Regions from separate parts of the Homo sapiens genome. Here regions 1 and 2 are each linked to region 3. The links are contacts of gene promoters, found by promoter capture Hi-C in human tissues and cell types (Jung and others, 2019). All regions are on one chromosome and are shown on one strand. The core of a region is centred on a gene start or on the middle of the fragment in contact, and the rest is flanking DNA. Distances in the headings are between cores, read along the strand shown. Region 1 holds the start of PSMB2 (proteasome 20S subunit beta 2). Region 2 holds the start of TFAP2E (transcription factor AP-2 epsilon). Region 3 overlaps AGO1 (argonaute RISC component 1).

The links. The method cuts DNA at HindIII sites, captures the fragments that hold promoters and counts their contacts. A contact is called where the count stands out against the background at its distance.
Region 1: a contact is called between the fragment with the promoter of PSMB2 here and a fragment that was not itself captured in region 3, in 1 of the 25 tissues and cell types used here (mesenchymal stem cells).
Region 2: the fragment with the promoter of TFAP2E here is called in contact with a fragment that was not itself captured in region 3 in 1 of the 25 tissues and cell types used here (adrenal gland).

What each region holds. Positions count from the first base shown.
Region 1 is chr1:35,639,684-35,642,932 of GRCh38, forward strand. It overlaps PSMB2 (proteasome 20S subunit beta 2), which reads right to left and starts at 1,843. Exons shown (of 6, transcript NM_002794.5): 1 at 1,659-1,843. The coding sequence starts at 1,749. RefSeq lists enhancers at 818-1,783, 1,572-2,031, 1,784-2,748. The HindIII fragment of the contact is 3,605 bases long and covers 703-3,249 here.
Region 2 is chr1:35,571,967-35,575,433 of GRCh38, forward strand. TFAP2E (transcription factor AP-2 epsilon) reads left to right here and starts at 1,348. Exons shown (of 7, transcript NM_178548.4): 1 at 1,348-1,638; 2 at 1,961-2,443; 3 at 2,983-3,034. The coding sequence starts at 1,612. It overlaps TFAP2E-AS1 (TFAP2E antisense RNA 1), which reads right to left. Exons shown (of 3, transcript NR_183387.1): 2 at 2,394-2,732. RefSeq lists enhancers at 1,312-1,811, 2,053-2,799. The HindIII fragment of the contact is 7,667 bases long and covers 1-3,467 here.
Region 3 is chr1:35,919,024-35,922,292 of GRCh38, forward strand. AGO1 (argonaute RISC component 1) reads left to right here. Exons shown (of 19, transcript NM_012199.5): 18 at 32-231; 19 at 476-3,269. The coding sequence ends at 584. Among named protein-coding and RNA genes, the nearest start is that of AGO3, 10 kb to the right of the region's middle. The HindIII fragment of the contact is 4,306 bases long and covers 1-3,269 here.

The DNA of each region.
Region 1 (3,249 bases), core at 593-3,092, 280 kb before region 3:
AAACAAAAGACCTGTAAAGATAATGATTATTGTTCTACCTAGACATGACTTAATGTTAAAATCACTTGCTTGTCAAAGACCTTAGTATTCAAAATAATGGACAAATTTACTCTCAAAACAAATTCACTCCTTTGGAAGGACTGGCTTACAAACAAAACTTCTACAAACTAATCATAGAATTTCATAAAGTATAAGGTGCTATGTTAAGTGATTTACATTAATTCATTAACCTTTTGAGATAGGTGCTATTACATTACCACCTTATAGATGTTAGCTCTAGGGCACGGAGTTAGAGAAATTTGCTTAAGGTCACAAGTGGCAGAACCTGGGTTCAACCTATGCAGTGAGTCCAGACATTTTGCCCCTAAGTACTATAATATACTATACTATACTATACTATACTATACTATACTATACTATCTATACTAAATTACTCAATACATAATTTTAAGAAGATTTTGGTTGTTTTTCTGCAGAATCTAAGTTTGTTTTCCTTAACTGATCAAAGACGTGCTACTGTTGAAAAAGTATTAAGCTTTGGTTCAGATGACTTAATGGTCATTTGACAAATATGTTTGGGCACCTACGTACACTTAGTATTATTAAGTACCTGCCTAGTGCTAAGGATTTGCACATAACTCATTTACTAAATCCTCCCGACAAGTTTGTGAGTTTGGTATTGCTAATCTTAAAGATGAGGAAATCTGGGCACTGCAAAATAACTTATACAAACTCATAAGGCAAATAAATGACAGGGCTCCAATCTCTTAACTCCATTAACTACTTAAATATAAGGAAAACCTGGCAGCCATTGCTCTGGAAAACTGGAAAAGAAGAATCGGGAGCCACGGGAAGAAGGAAAATGCCAAGCTTCTGGTCCCACAGTCTCACTCTCCCCAGGATCCCACCTTATGCCGCCAACAAACTAACCTCATTACTAGCGACACCAGGAAACTTATCAGAGATTCGGGGATCTAGAGAGCCAGTCCCACAGTCTCACTCTCCTCAGGATCCCACCTTATGCCGCCAACAAACTAACCTCATTACTAGCGACACCAGGAAACTTATCAGAGATTCGGGGATCTAGAGAGCCAGGCTCTGGGCAGGCGCTTAAACATTTATAAACTGATTCCCTTTAGGCAACTCTCACCAAGCAAGAAGCATTTAGCGAAGGCCAGAGCAGAGCACTGACCCAGGAGCCCTGGAGGAGCAAATGCCAAGGTCCCAGACCTGTCTGCCTGTTTCGCCTGTAATCCCAGCACTTTGGAAGGCCGAGACGGGCGGATCTCCTGAGGTCGGGAGTTCGAGACCAGCCTGACCAATATGGAGAAATCCACATCTCTACTAATAATACAAAAATTAGCCAGGCGTGGTGGCGCATATCTGTTCCCAGCTACTCGGGAGGCTGAGGCACGAGAATCGCTTGAACCCGGGAGACAAAGACTGTGCTAAGCCGAGATCGCGCCATTGCACTCCGGCCTGGACAACAAGAGCGAAACCCCTCTCGAAAAAATAAATAAATAAATAAAATAAGTACGGGCAGGGCAGGCCGGCTTCCATCTCTCAGATCCTCCCTGGTACTTATTCAACCCCCGACAAACTCCTTCTGGCCGCTCCTACACCCCAGGCCTGGCCGGGCCTCCCCTGCTTCCTCTCACCGTCCTTCATCTGGACAATATTGCTGGCGGCCACCCGGTCGGAGGCGACAAGAACATAGTCGGGGCCTTGGATACCGATGAGGTACTCCATGGTGGCGGAAGGCCAGGGGCTGCAGGTCCGACACAGCACGAGACTCGCCCGCTTCCAGGTCTCACCGGTGAGACAGCACCTCAGAGCGAAGATTGGCGCGACGCCTGCAGCACGACTTCCACGGCGCTCTCGGATGACGTACAACTGTCGCGAGAGGTTGCAAAGCGGGCGCGGCGCCGGGTGCCTTATGTTCAGTGCTTGTCTCTGGGATCGTACGGGTCTCCTCCGGAGCAGGCTGTGCAGGTCACTTGCCTTATGTGACGCCCAGTTTCTCTGTTTACACACTAAGATTTTAAAAGTGGCTTTAGGATAAAATCACGCAGTGTATGTAAGGTGCCGAGCACGTGTGGGTGTCAAAAAGGGGTAGGTAGCCAGGCAGCCGTTTCCCTACGTTGCTCGGTAAAATCTCCCCAGAAACCCCTTTCCTGCAAGCCAGATTGGAGAAAAATTAACTTGAGGGGAGCCTTACTTCCATCCTTCACAAAAATAGTATATGGTTGGATTAAAGATATAAGCATGGCCGGGCGCAGTGGCTCACGCCTGTAATCCCAGCACTTTGGGAGGCCAAGGCAGGCGGATCACCTGAGCTTGGGAGTTCGAGACCAGCCTGACCAATATGGAGAAACCCCGTCTCTACTAAAAATACAAAATTAGCTGGGCGTGGTGGCGCATGCCTGTAATCCCAGCTACTCTGGAGGCTGAGACAGAGAATCGCTTGATCCCTGGAGGCGGAGGTTGCGGTGAGCACTCCAGCCTGGGCAACAAAAGCGAAACTCCGTCTCAAAAAAAAAAAAAAAAAAAAAAAAAAAAAAAAAAAAAAAAAAAAGAGAGGGAGAGAGATACAAACATGGAAGAAAAAGTAGAAAAATATTTCTGTAATTTTTGGAAGAGATGTGTTTCTAAGCTTGACAGGGAACCCAGAAGCAATATGAGAAAAGACTTGACAGATTTGACTACCTAAAATTACACGTCTCTATGTGGTGAAAGTCATTATCATGCTCAACAGTAAATGTAAATTGGGAATGTTTCAATTGTAGAAATAGTTACTATTTTGGACCTTATAGACAGAAGAAAGGAAAAAGTTAATATCTATAACTTAAAAGATATTCCTACAAACCAATGGGAGGGGAGCCGGGTGAGACAATACCATTTTTAAAAGACCCGGCAGGGCACGGGGGCGGATCAAGAGGTCGGGAGTTCGAGAACAGCCTGGCCAATATGGTGAAACCCCGTCCCTACTAAAAATACAAAAAATTAGTTGGGCGTGGTGGCAGGCGCCTGTACTACTCCGGAGGCTGAAGCAGGAGAATTGCTTGAACCTAGGAGGCGGAGATTGCAGTGAGCCGAGATAGCGCCCCTCCACTCCAGCCTGTGCAACAGAGAGACTCCATCTCAAAAAAAAAAATAAAAAATAAAAAAAGACCAAAGACTAAGAAAAACAATTCACAAAAGAAGCAACACGAATGGCCAATAAACATGAAAAGATCCTCAACCTTGATG
Region 2 (3,467 bases), core at 98-2,597, 350 kb before region 3:
AGATCACAGAGGAAACGGGATGTAGCTAGGATCACACAGTTAGGCAGAGTCAGGACTAAATCCAAGCCCCTGAGTCTGAGGCAGTAGAGAATAGTGATTCTGAGCAGAGAGGGGCCAGGGGCAGATCACCCCAGCTCTGCCACTTAGCTGCTTGACCTTGGGCAAGCCATTTAACCTCTCCATGCCTCACCCCTCCCCTGAAAATGGGGATGATATGGGTATCTCTTTCATAGAGCTGCTGTGAGGGTTAAAGAACCCAATATTCGTGAAGCACTTTGCACAGAGGCTGGCACATTCTGTAATAAGTCTGCTGTGATTATTTCTACTTTGCCCTGGTCTGCACATCTTGCTTTTAAAAAACATCTTTCTTCTGCTTTCTTAATTCCTGTTCTCCTTAGCATTCCTCTCATTTGTCCATCTTTAATCCCTGTCTCTGCTTGTCAGGAGGGGAGGGTTGGGTTTGGGGAGAAAGAGAGAGTGACTACAGAGACTGGAACTTGCTTGACAGCCAGGGAGTGCCTGCCATGGTAACACAGGAACATGTAGCCTGCGCATGTTAGTGTAACAATCACACGGCATCCATGCTAGTCAGTTACACACAGTCACTCAACAGTCTCTGGGTATCTCATGCCCACACTCAATCAGCCCAGGACCCTGTGGCTTCAGAAATATCTTGGCCCCTTGTCAGGTGGAGCTCATACCCAAACCCATCCCAGGCAAGTCTCTCTCTCTGTCTGGCCAGCTTCTGTCTCCAACTCCCTCAGAGCCTGGCTTGGCTTGGAAGTTTTCAGCCCAGGAAGCCTGAGAGCGAAGTGGGCACCTTCGAGGGATTTTGATCCAGAACCATTCAGGAAAGACTGTGATGGTAGACCCCCTAAACACACGCACTGACACTGTGTGCGCATGAGCAGATAGGCTGGAGTCTTCAGCTCACAAACTTCTTCCACGTTCCCGATTACCCACCTCATCCAAAGTCTCTTGAGGTGCTTAGAGAAAGGATTGATACCTATTTTACCGAGGAAGCTGAGGCCAGCGAAGAATAGTGCTTTGCTTAAAGGCAAGGATGTGATAGAGCCAGGCAAATGTAGGGCCCTTGCGTCCCAGCCTCGAATATTTCTGTTTCACTGCAGCTGCGAGCTGCGAGCCCAGAAGGCGGCTCTGATCAATGTGGGCTGAATTCACGCCCCCTACCCACCCTACCCGATCCCGCCAAAGCCACTGCCTCCCCTGTGGCAGCCGCTGGGGAAAAGGGAGAGAACTGCCATAGCTTGTCTCTTTAATGCGCGCCCCCGGAGGCCCGGCGCGCCCCCGCCACTATAACTGGAGTGCATGGAGCAGGCTACGCTCAGAGGAGGAAGGGCGGGCGCTGGGCACCCGTTGACCGACTTTTCCAAGTGCGATCAGTGCCCGTCCGTCCTGCCTCCATGGACCCGCCCGGGAACGGCCACCGCTGAGGACCCCACGCCCACTAGGATCCCGGCTGGGTCGCACCCAGCTACCGCACCGTGACCTCCGCGGGCTGTGCCGGCTCCCGGCGCCTCTGCCCGCAGCGCTCGCCGTCGGGCTAGGGCTCCGCCGCCGCCACGCCTCGCGCCCGGCACTCACCGCCCCATGCTGGTGCACACCTACTCCGCCATGGTGAGTAGTCTCGGGCCCGGGACATATTCGGCCGGGGGATCGGGGCGCCTGAGTGCTGGACTTTCCAACCCTCCTGTCCCGCGCTAACGAAATCTCGGAGGGAGGGGGCCGCAGGGACTTCGCCAGCTGAGAACGCGATGCGCAAGTGACCGCTGTCCCCAGCCTGAGGCTCCTGCGCCCGCGGGTGGCTCGGAAATAAACCTCGGGCCCCAAGAAACGGGAGGGACTGCAGCTGAACCCTCCCGAGCTGAGGAGGATCCTTTCAGGCTGGGGTCCTTTCAGCTGCCAGTGGGTCACCTAAGGCACCCCTCTCCTTCCCCAGGAGCGCCCCGACGGGCTGGGAGCAGCTGCCGGCGGGGCCCGCCTGTCGTCTCTGCCCCAGGCGGCCTACGGGCCGGCGCCCCCGCTCTGCCACACGCCGGCCGCCACAGCTGCCGCCGAATTCCAGCCGCCCTACTTCCCGCCGCCCTACCCGCAGCCACCGCTGCCCTACGGTCAGGCGCCCGACGCCGCCGCAGCCTTTCCCCACCTGGCAGGGGACCCATATGGCGGCCTGGCGCCCCTGGCGCAGCCGCAGCCTCCTCAGGCCGCCTGGGCCGCGCCCCGCGCAGCCGCCCGCGCCCACGAGGAGCCTCCCGGCCTGCTGGCACCGCCCGCCCGCGCCCTGGGCCTTGACCCGCGCCGTGACTATGCCACTGCCGTGCCCCGGCTCCTGCACGGCCTGGCCGACGGCGCGCACGGCCTGGCAGACGCACCTCTCGGCCTTCCGGGGCTGGCGGCGGCCCCCGGTCTGGAGGACCTGCAGGTGAGACCCGAGGGATCCGGGATGGGTCGGGACTGGCCGCGGTGGTTTACTACCATGGCTGGAGGCAGAAGGTGACAAATGCAGGAAGCCGACTTTTCTCCCAGCTCGCCACATCTCACTGGTGACTCCGAGGATGTGTCCCACCTCCTGGGTTAGACGTTGCCTGGCCATCAAGGCTGCCTGGCACTGAGTCCGCCAGCAGTGCGTGGGTGGCAGCAACCCTCGGCAGGGACCGAATCACTTCTTTTCTCCCCGCTGCCACGTGTGGCATCCATGGGGCAGCCTGCACCTGGGGCGAAGAGAAGCATAATAGTTACCAGTGTAAGATTCAAAATTCCCTTTTTGCACTGCACAGTGAGATGCCCAGGGCTCCAGCTCAGTGCCTGGACATAGCGATTCCTGGGCCTGCCCGTCGCCGCCCCAAGCGAAGCTGGTGCGCCTTGGGCGGAGCAGACAGAGACCCTGGGTGGCAGGGGCTTGGGAAGACATGGGCGGCTAGGGCTTTATGCGCCCTCACCGCTGCCCTCTGCTATTTGCAGGCAATGGACGAGCCGGGAATGAGCCTCCTAGACCAGTCCGTGATCAAGAAAGGTAAGGAATGGTCTGTCAGGGCAGAGCCCGGCGAGATGGTGCAGGCCCTTGGTGCACAGATCCATTTTCTTCACCGGCCGTGCCTCCTGTGTGTCGCCAGGCTGGGTGTCCACCAGGCACTCTTCCTGGCCCAGCCAGATGTTAGGCAGACGTGCGGGCTTGGTGAGTTTGCCCAGCACCCTGTGGCCTGGGGTGGGCCTCAGCGGATCAGCATTCACTGGGCTGCAGCACTGGGAGCCTGGCCTCTCCCCGCCGAGGGGGAGGGCACTCTTGTGGATCTGGAGTTGATTTGCAGAACGAGTTAAACCACTTCCCTGTTTCCCTAAGAGATGGGAATGGAAGTGCTGTTCCCACGGAGTTGGGGAAATGATTTTCACTTTACAGTGCCTTAGCATTTCGGTGCCTGGCGGGCACTTTCTTCCTCTTCCTTCCA
Region 3 (3,269 bases), core at 185-2,684:
CCTGGGACCCCTCACCTTCCTATCTTCCCAGGGCACCAGCCGACCATCCCATTACTATGTTCTTTGGGATGACAACCGTTTCACAGCAGATGAGCTCCAGATCCTGACGTACCAGCTGTGCCACACTTACGTACGATGCACACGCTCTGTCTCTATCCCAGCACCTGCCTACTATGCCCGCCTGGTGGCTTTCCGGGCACGATACCACCTGGTGGACAAGGAGCATGACAGGTGAGGCCTGGGATCAGGTTGGCCTCCTTTTTGCTTCAGCCTATTGTGCCAGATCTTCTTAACTTTCCTTGGGTAGAAGGAAATGAGTGCTGTCCAATTTGGTGTCATTGGGCTCGTCTGCCCAATCCTGGGTTGGGTTTCTCTCTTAAGTTGGTATGGGAATTGGCATCCCAGGGCTGGGCGAGGGAATTAGCAGCAGCTCTCAGTTCACCAGGAAGGACTTCTTTCATTTTTTCCTTTTCAGTGGAGAGGGGAGCCACATATCGGGGCAGAGCAATGGGCGGGACCCCCAGGCCCTGGCCAAAGCCGTGCAGGTTCACCAGGATACTCTGCGCACCATGTACTTCGCTTGAAGGCAGAACGCTGTTACCTCACTGGATAGAAGAAAGCTTTCCAAGCCCCAGGAGCTGTGCCACCCAAATCCAGAGGAAGCAAGGAGGAGGGAGGTGGGGTAGGGAGGAGTGTAGGATGCCTTGTTTCCTTCTATAGAGGTGGTGTAAGAGTGGGGAACAGGGCCAGCAAGACAGACCACCAGCCAGAAATCTCTGATATCAACCTCATGTCCCCCACCCCTCACCCCATCTTGTCACATCTGGCCCTGACCCCACTGGACCAAAAGGGGCAGCACTGGTGCCCACCATACACACAGGTGTCTCATGTGACTCACAGTGCTAAAGACTCATGCTTGACAGCTTGGTAAGGTCAACTCTGTAGCCCTGCAGACAAAAGCTGGTTAGGTTTGGGTTTGATACTTTAGATGGGAAAGTGAGGGGCTTGAGAAAGTGGGTGGGAGGAGGGAAGGATTTTTTAGGAGCCTTAATCAGAAAAGGACTAGATTTGTTTAAGAAGAAAAATGAAACCAGACCCAGATCAATATTTTAGGATACTAGATGTTTTAATGGGTTCAGAATCCAGTTTGTAGGAAGATTTTTTAATGGTTTTGGTTGCTCCTCCCCCAGCTGCCACCCCCCACCTTACCCTTATTCCTCTCTGTCCACATTTTCTGCCCCACCTTACTTCTCCTCCCTGACAGACATCCAGCCCCTAGTAATACTTAAGGCACTATGGCACTTAGCTTTGAAGTGACACGACCCTGTCTTCCTTCCGCCCGCTGGTGGGTAACCAGTGCCTTCCCTGTAACGGTAATGCTGCAGAACTGCAACCTTTTGTACCTTTCTTTGGGGAATGGGGTGGGGGTGGGAGAGGAGGTAGATGGGGAAGAAATACCCCAGACCCAACAAACCTCCAGCCAGAAAGCCAGCTATTTTGCATTTGAAGGAATTGACTTCCTCATTCATTGAGCTTTTTAAAAGATCACAACCTCAAGATGGTTAAAATCCATTGACATTTGCACTTTCAAACATGACAAGTCTCGGAGCTGCTGAGATGACAGGCCCCTGGCCTTTCCACTTATGCCTCCTTTTCTCCTTATTCCTCCTACCTCCCGCCCCGCCCAGGTCTGGAGTTACTTTCATAGCATTTTTCACTCTTGGCTTCTTTTCTCCCTTGATGGTCAAGTCTCTTATGTTTCAATATTTCTTAACTGGGGTGTCTTATAACAAAAAACTCTTAGGTCTAAAATGAGAAAAAAGAGAGAAAACAAAATGTTATTTTTATACCATAACTTGAGTGTATTGCCAAAATTTGGAAATCCTTCCCATGCCTGATGAGTTTATATCCCAGAAACATTGAGCCATCAGAATGAACTGTGTACCTGATTTGTTCTCTGACCTGGCTAGGTAGGGAGGGGGTGGTTATCGCCCCAAGATGGGGTCCAGGCTCCATCCTTCCTCTGTGCAGATAATACCTTTTTCTTGCTATAGCCTCCCTCCTCTGCACTGTCCTGCACTCTTTCTTGCAAGTGCATCTTTTTCCTTCCCCTGGACTGTCCTCTGACCCTTTGGCTCATCCTAGATTGCAGTGTGTCCTGTGGACAGGCTGGGGAATTTTGCTGCTCCCTATTGCTTCTGTTTACAAAAATGAATTTTTCCTGGTTTCCCACTAGGGCATGTGGGTGGGTGGCATGGACTTTTTTTTTTTTTTTTTTTTGTCTTGAGACATGGGGTTTGGCTGTCTTGCAGGACTGGAGAAGGTGGTGGTTCTAGCTTGGTCTCTGTTGGCCTTGAAGCAAGCATCCCCCCTGCCCTTTTTCCTTGACTGTTCATTTTTTTCCTGCCCCACTGCTTGGGATGGGGAGTTGCAACTTCAGTGTGGAATTTCCTCTTTGAGGAGCCTGGGCTTGGATCTATCCTGATCTGGTGATGAAGCCATGATTACTTTAGACCTAGCCCAGGCTTGGAGGCCAGCTGGAGGAAGAAGGGTCTAAATCCTGGCCTGTAGAGTTAGAACTACCATTTCCTCCCCTTAGCTGCCCTTGTATGACCCGGATTTGCTATGCAAAACAATCTATCCCAGGTTCTGTTCTGGTTGGCTACATTGTTCAGCAACTCACAAAACGTAGCACAAACATTCATTATGGAGAAAGCATCAGGACTGTTGAGTAACTCCTCCTTTACTTTTTTCCTGCTGGCTACAGCATGGGGTGCCCTATAGGCACAAGCCCAGCTGAAGAACAGAATGGAGGGCTCTGGGAGGAGGCAGCTCACTGGAGAGCCTACATTCCTTACACAAGTGCCTAAAGAGAGTGATGCTAACACTCCATCTGCCCTGTCCATTGCCTTCATATACAGTCTACTTCGTGTTCTGTCACCCTTTGGGGAGGGGAGTTCTCCTGGGACAGTGGGCTCTGCATGTTCTCCACTTGGATACATTTTGGGGCTAGGATCAGGGCACTATTCCTGGAGGGTCCAGTCATTCACCAGCATTTGCAAATGTCCATAGGGAGCAGGTGGCAGCCTCTACTCCCAGCAACAAGTTTGTGTTCTCTCCTTTTCTCTCTTTGCCTCACTCTCTCCAGTTGGTTTTCAGCTGGGGCTTGAAATGCATTTTTAGCCCTTTGACGTGGCTTATGCCATTCAAGAAATAAAAAGCAAGAGAATCAGCTTTGGGCAATGACAAGAAATGAGTTCTTACTCTGA